3 separate regions of the Homo sapiens genome follow, and regions 2 and 3 are each linked to region 1. Evidence: promoter capture Hi-C in 16 types of primary human blood cells and fetal thymus (Javierre and others, 2016). All regions are on one chromosome and are shown on one strand. Each heading gives the region's core, a stretch centred on a gene start or on the middle of the fragment in contact. The rest is flanking DNA. Distances are from core to core; before and after follow the strand shown. Region 1 holds the start of CELF3 (CUGBP Elav-like family member 3). Region 2 overlaps POGZ (pogo transposable element derived with ZNF domain). Region 3 overlaps POGZ (pogo transposable element derived with ZNF domain).

The links. The method cuts DNA at HindIII sites, captures the fragments that hold promoters and counts their contacts. A CHiCAGO score of 5 or more calls a contact.
Region 2: a contact is called between a fragment that was not itself captured here and the fragment with the promoter of CELF3 in region 1, in 16 of 17 cell types (M2 macrophages, M1 macrophages, M0 macrophages and 13 more). The highest score is 20.3, in M2 macrophages.
Region 3: a fragment that was not itself captured here is called in contact with the fragment with the promoter of CELF3 in region 1 in 9 of 17 cell types (M0 macrophages, M2 macrophages, M1 macrophages and 6 more); the score reaches 11.0 in M0 macrophages.

Annotation. Positions count from the first base shown.
Region 1 is chr1:151,715,376-151,720,360 of GRCh38, reverse strand. CELF3 (CUGBP Elav-like family member 3) reads left to right here and starts at 3,558. Exons shown (of 13, transcript NM_007185.7): 1 at 3,558-4,485. The coding sequence starts at 4,341. It also overlaps a transcript of RIIAD1 not described here. RefSeq lists an enhancer at 3,334-3,628. The HindIII fragment of the contact is 2,919 bases long and covers 2,673-4,985 here.
Region 2 is chr1:151,452,159-151,457,244 of GRCh38, reverse strand. All of the region lies in intron 1 of POGZ (pogo transposable element derived with ZNF domain), which reads left to right. Among named protein-coding and RNA genes, the nearest start is that of POGZ, 4.8 kb to the left of the region's middle. The HindIII fragment of the contact is 951 bases long and covers 1,897-2,847 here.
Region 3 is chr1:151,432,303-151,436,732 of GRCh38, reverse strand. All of the region lies in intron 3 of POGZ (pogo transposable element derived with ZNF domain), which reads left to right. Among named protein-coding and RNA genes, the nearest start is that of POGZ, 25 kb to the left of the region's middle. The HindIII fragment of the contact is 9,229 bases long and covers 1-4,430 here.

The DNA of each region.
Region 1 (4,985 bases), core at 2,309-4,808:
TTTTTTTTTCCCGGCAGGAGCAAGAGGTTAACCAGAGATAATGGTTCCTCTTGGCCAAGATCTGTCTTTTCTCCCCATACTCCCTCCAGAGAAGCTGGTGGTGGCACCTCCAGAGCTGTGCCAGCCAGTACAGTCACCACAAGCCACCTGTGGCTCTTGAACACTTGAAAAGTGGCTGTAGGTGTTAAATGTGCAGCAAATATAAAATACACACAGGATTTTGAAGGCTTGGTATGAAAAAAATCTCATTAATAACATGTAATTGATTTACATGTTGAAATAGTATTTTGGATATATCAGGTTAAATAACATTTATTATTAAAAGTAATTTCTCTTGTTTCTTTTTGCTTTTATATATGGCTACTAGACATTTTTAAACCATATATGTGGCTTGTATTATATTAGACAATGCCAGAGCCTGGACCAGCAAACCTACACACTCAAACACACACAGGCATGCACAGTGTTCTCTACCTCCCCACCTCCAAGTAGGAAATGATTGATACCCTCCGTCTGCCAATCTGTGATCTTCTTGTGCTTTGATAATCAATCAAGCCTTTCTTCACTGATCACATCCTATGACCCAAATGCCCATGTATGAGAGGGGCTACTTTTTGTTTTTTTAACAGCGTCTCAGTACTCACTATTATGTATTGTGTTGGCCTGTCTTACCTTCCACTTGAGGTGGAAGCCACTTGAGGGCAGGAAGGTTATAGAATCAATTCTTTGTGCACTCTCATAAATTCTGCTGCAGATGTCTTCACTCTGTATTCAATCAGGGAAGCCAGTAAGTACTTCATGACTAGCCACTCTGCCCACACATACCACCACATTTTGCCCTTTCTGAAAAATATCCCAATTATCCAGCATTTCTCATTTCCTAAGAATCTAAAGCCAGGATCAGAGCTCTCCCTTTATAAATTCAATAATCTTTTTATGTAGGGCAGCCTAGCTTTGACTGCAGAGGAATAAAAAAGAGGGTGAGCTTGGGGGTGGTGGGCAGAGAAAGTATCCTGGAAGCCTCTCTCTCTCCTAGAGAGAAACTTTCCAGAATAGGCATCTGAGTCTCAGGGCTCCCCTGCCTTTACCTCACAGGACTCCCATCCCATGGCCTGAAAGAACACCAGAGATGTGTTCACCGTCACTCAGCAAGGAGAGTCTGATGAGTGGTACAACTCTTCTCCTCTAAACCCTGCCTCTTCTCTCAGACTGACACCTTTGGGGACCACAAACTAAGCAAAGGACTGGACGCATTTTGCTGTCTGCAGCTGTCTCCCCAATTACTGACTGGGAGGAGGAGTGAGGGGAGTTCATTTTAATTCATTTTTGTGAATGTTTAATATTTCAATTAATATGATTAGCCCCAAGCCTGAATGAGCAGCAGGGCGGCAGATCTGCTGAGAAGACATAGAGTAATGAGATCAACAGGGCCATAGGGTCTTCCCCTTCTCCATCCTCAGAGGACATGATCTGTTTAGCATCTCCATAAATACCAAGATCAGATTAGAAGGCAAGGAAAGGAGCAGTGGGGGTGGGGTAGGTGAGTGGAAAGTTACTTTCAAGATGTGTGTGCCCTTCTTGATTCCCTGGCTCTGCCGTCATTCGCTTCTTCTGAGCACCCACCACTGAGTCCTCTAGCACCTCCCCCCACTGCCACCCCATCTTAGGGGACCCTACTTGGGGGACCCGGGCATCCATGTGATGAAGTGTAATCAAGTCTACACACATACACATTCACTCAAATGCAAGCACCTGCCAGAGCGTGGCTCCAGGCCACAACAAAAAAACAGGCTAAGGAAGGATGGGAGGTGGTCCACAGAATCAAGCAGTAAAAAGAAAGACTCTCTCTCATCCAGGGCTTAAATGGAGACAGAAGAGGAAGAAAGGCCAGACTTCACCACTGCTCCCATTCTCAAGAGGAATGTTTGATGTGGGAGTTAAATGCGTGGACTCAGGAGCCAGACTGCCCAGGCTCCAGTCTCAGCTAGACCTCTTTCTAGCTGCATGGCTTTAGGCAAGTTATTTCAGCTCTGTGTCTTGGTTACCTCCTCTCTATTTGGAGATGACAAAATCTACATCATAGGGGGGTGGTGAGGGTTTAGGAGTTAGTAAATATAAAGCACTTGGCACAAAGCCTGGGACACTGTAAGAGCCATGTAAGCACTGGCTGTTACTATTATTTCCCTTCCAGAAGAGAAGCCTGCCTGCCGTGATAGCTCAGGAATGGAGGCCCCTGGGACTCAGCTGGGACACAGTTTAGAGACACGAGTGCCTCTGTGGAAACAGCAGCCCTACCCCGGGGGAGAAGAAGGGAATGACAGGAAGACAGGGTGCTCTACAAAAGCCCAGAGCCCCAGGAGAGCCCCCGTTGCTGAGCACTGACAGAAAGCAAGGGCTACCACCACTGACAAGGTTTGATGTCCACAGATAATCCCTGCACTGAGGGCGTGCTCTGAGTGGGCCCAGTGCATGGAGGGGTCACGCTCCCTCCAGATCGTGGAGCCTGCCAATCATCCATAGAAGTATCCATGGTCAGGGGAGCAATGGTCCCCGAATGTGCCTCCCCTGCTCTTCTGTGCTACCTGGCTCAATTTGAGTCCAACTCAAAGAACCCAACTGAAGAAAGAAGCAAAGGAAAGAGTAATTGGGTTTCTGCATCCTAAGGGGAAGCTTGACAGCTGTGGTTCTTCCCACTGAAGGAATCAGGAATCCACTGTTGTCAGAGGTTGTTTGCATGGAGTGTTTGTTAAGCTCCTGCTACGCATGAGCAAGACAGGGTGCTAGACACTGTGAACAGTAAGATGCTGAATTAAACGGTGTCCTGGTCTTCAAGGAGCTTACAAGTGAGAGCGCCCGCGGCGCCGCCTCCGCGGCCTCCCTGCCCACGCACTTATACACACAAACCCCCCAGAGGGAGAGAAGGGGGCATCGGCAAATGCCAGAAAGCTATCGTTTTTCTTGGTTCCTTTTCTGGAAAATATACAGTTCTCTTTCTGCATTCTTCTCATCCTGCTCCTCCTTCTCCACGTCCCTTTCCATTTTTCCTCTCTGCATTTTTTCTTTTTCCCCCAGACTCTGCGACCTGCTTCCCTCTCCATCTATATCTCCTTTCCCTTCAGCCTATGCAACCGTCCTTTCTCATTTTTCTTTCCCCTGATTTCTTTCCTTGACTCTCTACTCTTGGGGCTCCCCAGATGCCGGGCTCCCCTCTTTCCCCGCCACCCCCCATCTGCTGAGTCTTCCAGCACCGGGGACAGCTCCAGCCCCCGGAACAATGGACCCCACTTTAGGGTTCCTCTATAAATTCTCCATCTTAGTGCTTTGCCCAACTCCTGACTGGGGAGTAAGATGGGGGAAGGGTTATTATCAACAGGACCAGCTGCTCTTCTGGGGGCGGGAAGGGAGTCAGGGAGGATGGAGATAGAAAGAGGGCGTGGCTCGTGCCTGGATTGTGCGTCCCTCTCCAGGGTAGAGAATTTGTATTCGACCCCTGAGACTGACATCACTGATGTCAGGGGAAAGGAGGTGGGAGTGGGGAGGGGGGTGTGGAGGGGGGAGGTTTTTGTTGAGGAGAGCGCGGCCGGAGAGCAGAGCTCCGGGACCCAGGTGACCGGGAAAGCAGGCAGCCCCAGCGGCGGGAGCAGCCGGCAGCAGCCCAGGCCCGGGGACTGGGGTGGGGGTGGGAGGGGGGCTGAGGGGAGGACCTGAAGGGGGGCGGCAGGGCAAAAGGGACCCCTGGAGCCCTGCCGCCATCAGAGATCAAGCATCTGGCATCAGGGATCTTCGGACCCAGCAGAAGGATCCGCCACAGGGGAGGTGTCCTCCCAGGGAAGCCAACGAGAGATTCACCTGCCCCACATCAGGAGTGGGCCCCCCTTACTGACGCTGCTGGCAACCATAGCAGGCCCCTTAACCCCTCAGTCTCCTCCCCATCACCCTCCTCAGGCCCTTTCCCCGCCTCCAGCTCTCATCTCAACTCCCAGTTCCCAGCCCTCTAAGCCCTAGCACCCCCGGCTACCACCTAACCCTCCAGGTCTTGGCCATACTCACCCCCATCCTGGGACATTTGCCAGATCTCTGGGAGGGAGATCGTTTGTTTAGGCGATGCCCCCTGGTGGCATGACAGCGTCTGCCTAGACCCCTGACCCCTAGCACTCAACTCCCTGGGCCTCCTTTGTGTGAAGAGCCGCCCCTCTGCTTAGCAGCGTGGTTGGGGGCCAAAGGGAAAGCCAGCCCCAGCTGGGCCCCCGGGCCCCACCACTTATCTCCTTGCTGGGCAGCTCCCCTTGGCCTTTGGGCCTCTCCCTGCTCCCCTCGGCCCCTCCTCCTGGGCCGCCTCAATGAAGGAGCCGGATGCCATCAAGCTGTTTGTGGGGCAGATCCCGAGGCATCTGGAGGAGAAGGACCTGAAGCCCATCTTCGAACAGTTTGGTCGGATCTTTGAGCTGACTGTCATCAAGGACAAGTACACCGGGCTGCACAAGGGTGAGGGGTCGGGCAGGCTGAAGAGGCTTCGGGGTGGGCTGGGAGGCTGGGGGAAGTTAAGCCAGGCTGGAGGGGTGGAGCGGCTGGGAAGGGCTGATGTGGAAGGAGAAGAGTTCAGGCCTGAGGAAAGTGGATGGAGGAGCTGAAAAAGAACTCAGCTAGAGTGATCAGGAAACCCCGGTGAAGGACTAAGGAGGGCCTCTTTTGGCTGAAGAGTTGTCAAGACGGCTGCAAAGATGTGGATCCCAGACATATGGGTGTGTTGATGTCATGGGATGAACTCAAGAAAGAATGGAGGGACAAGAGAGCTGGTTTGGGAGATAAGCAGCTGGGTAGGGGTGTGTGTGTGTGTGCGTGTGCAGCAAGACTGAGAATCTGAGCAGCCTCAGATAATATTGGGATGGGGGTCAGGACACAGGGTCAGGTGTTCAATGTGGAAAGCGTGGAGCTGGACTGGGCAGGGCAGCTCCAGGACTAAAGAGAGGGACTAGGAAGCAGGG
Region 2 (5,086 bases), core at 1,123-3,622, 260 kb after region 1:
GCTGTGTTGGTGGTGTATCTCAAACTAAAGGAGGTAACAGAATGGACTCTTGGGACGAACCTGATTTAGTTAGAGTTTCCACTCCCATCTTGAACTAGTGGTATAATGTAGGAAAGCAGTTCTCAAAGTGTGGACAGATGACCCATGGGGATCTCCTCTTACCCTTTCAGGGTAGCCTCAAGGTCATAACTATTTTCAAAATAATAGTAAGATGCTATTTATTGTTTTCACTGATACACTGATGGTTCAAAAGCAAGGCTGGGTAAAACTACTGGCGGTACCTTAGCACAAAGCAAGTCAGGGGCACCAAACTACTTGAGAATGCCCTTGAAGCAGTAAAATTTATTATTCTATTTTTATTTTTTTGAGGCGGAGTTTTGCTCTGTCGCCCAGGGTGGAGTGCAGTGGCACTATCTCGGCTCACTGCAATCTCTTCCTCCCTGGTTGTATTTTTAGTAGAGACAGTGTTTCGCCATGTTGGCCAGGCTGGTCTCGAACTCCGGACCTCAGGCGATCCACCTGCCTCGGCGTCCCAAAGTGCTGGGATTACAGGCATGAGCCACCGTGCCCGGCCTATTATTATTAAGTCTTAGCTTTTGACTACATGTCTTTTTAATTTTTAAGAATTTGTGATTAAATAAACATGGATAAAGCATTTATGCTGCCTAGGGAGGTGTGATTGTTGTCATGAAGGAAAAGCATTTGTGAGATTGGGTTGTGAATGAATGGCTTATTTCATGGAGTAGCATTTTTACTTGAAAGAACGACTAGCAGACTATGGTTTTTCACACTTAGTATTTGGCAGATATTTCTTGAAAATGAAGTGAGCTTGTCACTTTTAGGAAAACAACTGACAGTATTTATTACCAGTGATAAAATTTGGGTGAAAATTAGAATTTTTAAAAAGTTGACAGCTGGAGTTTGACAGCTTCCTAGTACTTAAAAGACTTTCCTTATGATATCAGTGGTTAAGGACTGCAATATTTTAAAATGTTGTTTAATGAAATATGTTATTTGGAAGATGGGCATAACTCAGTAAATCTAGGCTTTGCAAATGACCAATGCATGATGTTGCAAAATCAAGCAAAGGCAAAAGATCCTTTGAAAATTCCAGACATAGCAATGGATTTTAACAGTAAAAAAGTGGATTGATGTGGTTTCAGATTCCAAAATGTTAACTGTCCTTTAAGAAACTACTATTTGGCCTAGCGTGGTGGCTCACTCCTGTAATCCCAGCACTTTGGGAGGCCAAGGTGGAAGGATTGTGTGAGCCCAGGAGTTGGAGTTGAGCCTGGTCAGCATAGTGAGACCCTGTCTCTATTTATTAAAAAAAAAAAAAAAAAAAAAAAAGAAAGAAACTACCGTTTGTTGAGTTTTAGTATTTACCAAACACAGTTATCTGAAAAGGTTATTAAAATACTTCTCCCTTTTCCGACTAGATTTTCATTATATACTTAACCAAAGCTACATATAGCAACAGACTGAATGCAGAAGTAACTGTGAGAATCCAACCATCTTTTATCAAGTTAGACATAAAAGAGATTTGCAAAATGCAAAACAACGTTACTTTTCTCACTTTTTGGAGGGAAAGTATTTTTTGTTGAAATGTTATTTATGTTAACTTATAATGGGCTTGTCTTAAAATACATTGATAAATACTACATTTTAAAAATTTGTGGTAAATGTGGAAAGATAAAATTCACATAAACAAAAGATCTTTGGCGTCTTCAATAATTTTAAGAGTCAAAAAAATGAGAATCATTCAGTCAGTCCTATGTTTCTGCTCTTTACATCATTCAAATCTAACTCCCTTGGGGAACTTGGGAGAATTTATAAATAGTTGAAGTTGATGGAAGAGGCAGTGACCTGGGGAAGAATTCTAAAGCAAAAAAAGCTTGCTTTGAATCCTAACTGGGATATTTACTAACTGTAACCTTGAGGAAGTTACTTCGTCTCTCTAAACCACTGTTTTGACCTTATCTGTAAAATAAAAACTTTAGAGCTGGTTGATTACAAATCCTAGAGCTGGTTAATGCCTTTGCCATAATATCAATATGGTAACATTTTGATAGATTCTTTGGTATTCTTGTTTGTGATATTAAGCCATATTCACAAAAACTTGTCTTTTTTTTTTTTTTGAGATGGAGTCTCGCTCTATTGCCCAGGCTGGAGCGTAATGGCGCAATCTCGGCTCACTGCACCCTCCGCCTCCTGGGTTCAAGCGATTCTCCTCCTTCAGCTTCCTCAGTAGCTGGGATTACAGGCACGCGCCACCACACCTGGGTAATTTTTGTATTTTTCTAGAGATGGGGTTTCACCATATTGATCAGGCTGGTCTCAAACTCCTGACCTCTTGATCGACCCGCCTTGGCCTCCCAAAGTGCTGGGATTACAGGCGTGAGCCACCACGCCCAACTGAAAAACGTATTTTTATATGTAACCAAGGGGAGGAGAGCAGAAAAGAGACACTAACCTATTGCTAGGTGTTAGCAGAGTTAAAAGAAATTGAAAGCATAGAAATGGAATTTAGGCAACACACAGCTGTCATTGAAGAAAAGTTTTCCATCATAGTATAGATATTTTTCTTGGGAAAGGGACTCCTGAATATTGAACCCCTTTAAAGAAGAGAACTTGTTGCTTACTTGTTTTAGTAAAGAGCACAGAACTAAATATTTGGGTGTTTCTTGATACAGGATTGGCTACCAGACAAGAGGAAAGTATTTTGAGTTTGGAAATTTTAGGTTATTAAGACTACTTAAAACCCTTATGATTCTTACATATGAGGTACTATAACAGATGTTGTGAGGGACAAAATGGGCTGTGCAAAAGACTGGATAAATAAAAGCTTATTACATGTTTAACTATAGTTTTATACACAGATTAAGTATTCAGCCCTATAGGTTTTCTGGTATTAGTCCTTTTTAGAGCCAAAAATTGAGGTAACTTGAAAACATAATTACCAGTTATGTTGAGGATTATCATTGTTTATTTTTCACCCTGGAACAAGAAAGTGGTATTCTTAAAATGTTTGTTTTCTGTAAAATATTTTTCCTGTTCCAAATGTTCTTTTTATGTTGATTTTTGGGCAGGTATGTACTGGCAGTAAGTTGAAAACGTTAGATACCAAATTCTTCATTTCTGAATTCTTCATTCTTCATTTCTGGACTTTACAGCTATGAAAGAACAAGACAAAGGAATTCAGAGCTTTCAAGAACCAAGTATGTCAGGATAGTTGTGGAAAACAGATCTTTTTCTCATTTTCTTTGAGATGAAGATAGGCAACATTTGCTGCCCATTAAATACCTTAAAAGTATACAGGTGTATCTGCAGGATTCTTTTTGCTGCTTTTAAATAGTATATTGTTTTAAAAGGTCTGTTTTTATCTTGCCTTTACAATTATATAGACTTTTATTGACTAGCTGATCATATAGGGCCTTAGTATAGACTACCATATTCGCCAGCATTTAAGAAATAGTCCCCTTCCCTCCAGGAGAGTATTTATCTGGTACTCCCATATTATGGATTGAAGGATGAGACAAGAGACTGAGTATTGCTAATAGTTCTGTGTGAGCCTGCAGTGTTAAGTAAAACCTATTGAGTGCACAAAAAAATCATGTTACAATTACTACAAAATAGAGAAACCACCTAGGTTACCAAGATGTCAAATAATGGATTAATGGAAGAAAGTAATGTACCTCCTTGGTAGCCTACATAATCCACCTTAATTTGTTATTTCTTATTTAACTATTTTGCTATGTCTTAAGAAATGTATATTAAGTGAAAATGGATGCATAAAAATAAAAAAAGAGAAATGTATATATACAAGCTACATGAAAATTGGTCCTGGGAATAAATCAAGAAATTCAACCAACAAGGCTACCAGTTATTTAGTAAATACCAAAGAGATAGGTGGAATGTAGCAGTACAGAATATCACAGCTAAGATATGAGTAGGTAGTTCCACTCCCTCCTACCCCACCTCAGTTTTTATTAAGAAAATTTCACGCATGCGAAAAGGGAGAAAGAGGCTGGGCGCAGTGGCTCACACCTGTAACCGAAGCACTTTGGGAGGCCAAGATGGGCGGATCACAAGGTCAGGAGTTCAAGACCAGCCTGACCAACATGGTGAAACCTGTCTCTACTAAAAATACAAAAATTAGCTGGGCGTTGTGGCGCATGCATGTAATCCCAGCTACTCAGGAGGCTGAGGCAGGAAAATCACTTGAACCTGGGAGGTGGAGGTTGCAGTGAGCCAAGATCACTCCAGCCTGGGCAACTGAGCGAGACTCCATCACAAAAAGAAGAAAAAAGAAAAGGGTGAAAGAATTCTACAAGGAACACTTAAACTATCCACCACCTAGACAGAGTGACTTTTTTTTTTTAAGACAGAGTCTCGCTCTGTTGCCTAGACTAGAGTGCAGTGGCACAATCTTGGCTCACTGCAACCTCTGCCTCCCGAATTCAAGCGATTATCCTGCCTCAGCCTTCCGAGTAGCTGGGACTGCAGGCACCAGCCACCACGCATGGCTAATTTTTGTATTTTTAGTAGAGACGGGGTTTCACTGTGTTGGCCAGGCTGGTCTCGAACTCCTGTCCTTGTGATCCGCCTGCATTGGCCTCCCAAAGTGCTGGGATTACAGGCGTGAGCCACTGCGCCTGGTGACAGGATGATTTTTAATGTTTTGGCCCATGCCAAATATTTTTTGAAAGTTGGCATACTAGTATCTATAAGAAAATATCAAAATAGCCCACCTGTAGTGACAACTACTTGGGAGGCTGAGGCAGGAGGATCACCTGAGCCCAGGAGGTTGAGGCTGCAATAAGCCGTGATTGTGCCACTGCACTCCAGCCTGGGGGATAGAATGACACCCTGTCTCAAAAAAAAAAGCCAAATATCTATGTATTTGCTTAACCCCTTGAAAGTCACTTTCAAGATATTTCTATTAAATATTTTGTGCATTTCCTAGGAATAAATACATTCTCCTACATGAATATAATATGATTATCCTTTCTGTTTAAAAATTTTTTAGAGGGATCGGTTCTGTTTCCCAGATTGGTCTTGAACTCCTGACCTTAAGCAATCCTAC
Region 3 (4,430 bases), core at 953-3,452, 280 kb after region 1:
ATGTAATATATGTACACAATGGAATATTATTTGCCCATAAAAAGGAATGAAATACTGATACATTCTATAACATAGATGAACCTTGAAAACATAATGCTGAGAAAGAAGCCAGACATACAAAATTAGCCAGGTGTGGTGGTGCATGCCTGCAATCCCAGCTATTAGGGAGGCTGAGGCAGGAGAATCGTTTGCACTCGGGAGGCGGAGGTTGCTGTGAGCTGAGATCGCACCACTGCACTCCAGCCTGGGCAACAAGAGGAAAACTCTGTCTCAAAAAAAAGAAAGAAAAAAGAAGCCAGACACAAAAGGTCACATATTATATGATTCCATCTATATGAAATGTCTTGAATAGGCAAGTCCACAGAGAGAGAAATTAGATTCGTGGTTGCCAGGGGCTGGGAAGAGAAAAGAATGGGGAATAATTGCTAGGGGAAATGAGGTTTCTTTTGAGGGCGATGAATATGTTCTGGATCTAGGCCAGGCGCGGTGGCTCACGCCCGTAATCCTAGCACTTTGGGAAGCCAAGGCAGGCGGATCACCTGAGGTCAGGAGTTCGAGACCAGCCTGGCTAACATAGTGAAACCCTGTTTCTACTAAAAATATAAAAAACTAGCCGGGCATGGTGGCATGTGCCTGTAATCCCAGCTACTCGGGAGGCTGAAGCAGGAGAATTGCTTGAACCTGGGAGGCGGAGGTTACAGTGAGCCGAGATCACGCCACTGCACTCCAGCCTGGGCAACAAGAGCGAAACTCCATCTCAAAAAAAAAAAAAAAGAAAAGAAAATGTTCTGGAACTAAATAATGATGATGATGGTTGCACAGCCTTGGGAATATAAAAAAAAATCACTGAATTGTGTATTTTAAATGGGCAGTATGTGGATTATATCTCAAAGCTGGGTTTGGTTTTTTGTGTGTGTTTTGTTTTTAAGAAAGTATCAAGGCCAGGTGTGTGGCTTACACCTGTAATCCCAGCACTTTGGGAGGCCGAGGTGAGCAGAACATTTGAGGTCAGGAGTTCAAGACCAGCCTGACCAACATGGTGAAACCCCATCTCTACTAAAAATACAAAAAAATTAGGCGAGTGTGGTGGCATTTACCTGTAGTCCCAGCTACTTGGGAGGCTGAGGCAGGAGAATCGCTTGAACCTGAGAGGTGGAGGTTGCAGTGAGCTGAGATCACGTTACTGCACTCCAACTTGGGCTACAGAGCAAGACTCCATCTCAAAAAAAAAAAAGGAAAGTATCAGGAATAAAATTTTGGAATATTTTTACTATTCTGTTTGATGTTCTTTAGAATTTACTACTCAGTATTTTAAAATTATTCCTGTAGTTCTGACTCATCTTATGTTTGCACAGGAAAGAAACATTATGAGGTGAAATAAACTATTGCTTAATTCTGAGCTGTGAATGATGTGAATTTAATGTTATAAATTTCTTACAGTATAACTAATTATGGTTTTCAGTTCCTATTGTATTTAGCCCTCTATTTCTGGGCTTTAAGGGTATGGAAGTAAACTTAAAAGAATGAAGGAAGGCTGGGCGCAGTGGCTCACGCCTATAATCCTAGCACTTTGGGAGGCTTGAGGCGGGCAGATCGCCTGAGGTCAGAAGTTTGAGACTAGCATGGCCAAATAGTGAAACCCTGTCTCTGTTAAAAACTACAAAAATTAGCTGGGCATGGTGGTGGGCATCTGTATTCCTAGCTACTTGGGAGGCTGAGCAGAAGAACCACTTGAACCTAGGAGGCAGAGGTTGCAGTGAGCTGAGGTCATGCCATTCCAGCCTGGGTGACAGAGCAAAACTCCTTGTGAAAAAAAAAAAGAAAGAATGAAGGAAAAAAATCAAGAGAGAGCAAACTTAGAGGGAGAAAGTTAGTTGCATAATTCTTTGATTTATGTGCAAGGTGGGCAGATCACAAGGTCAGGAGATCAAGACCATCCTGGCCAACATGGTAAAACCCCGTCTCTACTAAAATACAAAAAAATGAGCTGGGCATGGTGGCATGTGCCTGTAGTCCCAGCTACTTGGGAGGCTGAGGCAGGGGAATCACTTGAACCCAGGAGGCAGAGGTTGCAGTGAGCCAAGATTGCACCATTGCACTCCACCCTGGTGACAGAGCAAGACTCTGTCTCAAAAAATAATGTGCTTGATACCATGTGATGTCTGAAGTATAGAAGAAAACTCATGGAATTAATTGTCACTGAGGTGGATTGTTTTATTTCATTTGTTTCTTAGGTTTTCTTTGTTTTGTTCAAGATGGGGTCTCACTTTGTCACCCAGGCTGGAGTGCAGTAGTGGCACGAACACAGCTGGCTCACTGCACCCTCCACCTCCCAGGCTCAAACGATCCTCCCACCTCGGCCCCCCAAGTAGCTGGGACTACAGGCACACACCACCATGCCTAGCTATTTTTCATTTTTTATTTTTGAGACTGAGACTCACACTGTTGCCCAGACTGGAGTGCAGTGGCACAATCTTGGCTCACTGAAGACCCCACCTGGGTTCAAGCAATTGTCATGCCTCAGTCACTCAGGTAGCTGGGATTACAGGTATATGCCACCATGCCCAGCTAACTTTTGTATTTTTAGTAGAGATGGGGGTTTCACCATGATGGCCAGGCTGGTCTCAAACTCTTGACCTCAAGTGATCTGCCTGCCTCGGCCTCCCAAAGTGCTGACATTATAGGCGTAAGCCACCACGCCTGGCCTTGTTTTGTTTTTGAGATGGGGGTCTCACTGTGTTGTCCAGGCTGGACTCGAACTCCTAGGCTCAAGTGATCCACCTGCTTCAGCCTCTCAAATAGCTGGGACTACGGGTGCATACCACTGCCCTAGTTTGGATAATCCTTTTAAAGGCTTTTTTTTTAAAGCACCAGAATTGTGATTGCCTGTTTCATCCTCTGGAAATAGAACCTTGTAAGACACTTGAATTGTCAGAATTCCTTTGAGCAAAGATTGCAGAAATCATTAAAATGCTTCTAAATAAGTAAGTATAATTTACCTAGTATGACTTTCCATAGTCTGGCTTTTGCTTTCCATTGCATTGTGAATCTAATCTGGTCTTAGAAAACCACTTTTTGATTGTACCATATTTTTGGGAAAATTCTTTTTTTTTTTTTTTTTTTTTTGAGACGGAATTTCGCTTATTGCTCAGACTGGAGTGCAGTGGCGCGATCTCGGCTCAATGCAACCTCTGCCTCCTGGGTTCAAGCAATACTCTTGCCTCAGCCTCCCGAGTAGCTGGGATTACAGGCATGCGCCACTACGCCTGGCTAGTTTTGTTATTTTTAGTAGAGACGGGATTTCTCCGTGTTGGTCAGGCTGGTCTCAAACTCCTGACTTCAGGTGATCCACCCACCTCAGCCTCCCAAAATGCTGGGATTACAGGCATGAGCCACCTTGCCCAGCCTTTTTGGAAAAATTCTAACAATCCACCAAAATTTAAACTTGACCCTGATATAAGAGAAAATATTTGCAGAAAATGCTGTTAAAATTCTTTATAATGGTATTTACGGGTTTCATGGAAACCTGGTCTGTCTTTAAGAGACTTGCTAATGCTGACTGATTTCCCATAAATGCAAAAAGCCTCCATCTTTCCCTTCTTGTATTTAATTGGGATGTTGAGCTAGTAATTATCTTAAGAATTTTTAGAATTAGGATAAATAAGAGATAATTTATTTTCTTTTGTCCTAGCAGTTAAAATAATGACTAAAAAATATAGACTTTTGCTTAGTCAATATTTTTCAACCATAAATTTCAAAAGGATAGAAAGAGATGGTTGGGGAACCTATAGATTAAAAGAGTTAGTTCATCAGTTGCACTTTGCAAACATTTTGTAACTGGATTCAGACAAATTACTTAAAAAATACAAGTAAATTTGAATTTTGACTGGGTATTTGATATTGAATAATTATTATAATGTTCAGGAGTTATGTTGGTATGATTCTTTTATCTTTTTTTGAAGTTCTTATGTAGAAGGTATATTTTGAAATACTTATAGATGATATGATCTAGAACTTGCTTTAAAGTGATATGGGAACTAGTAAGTATGTAGAAGGTATAGATGAAATAAGACTTGCCATACATTGATAATTATTGAAGCAGGGTGGTGGTTGCATAGGGGTTCACTATAGCGTTCCCTTTTTATGTATGTTTTAACTTCTCCATAATAAAACATTTAAAAATTTAAAAAACCCACCATAGATAAATTGCCAGTATAGTTTAACATGGATAGAACTTGCTGGAATTTTCTGTTTTATTTATCTATCTGCCTCTACAATCACTGGTCTTCTGGCTCAGTAACTGAGGGTCTAGTCTACTGATGAGCTCTCAGTTTCTGAGAGAGTATAAGATAAGCCACTGCTGGCCCATTAGTAGCCACCTACATACCTATTCCTTTGGTGGTCTAGCTTTGTAGTTAACTGTGGTGATA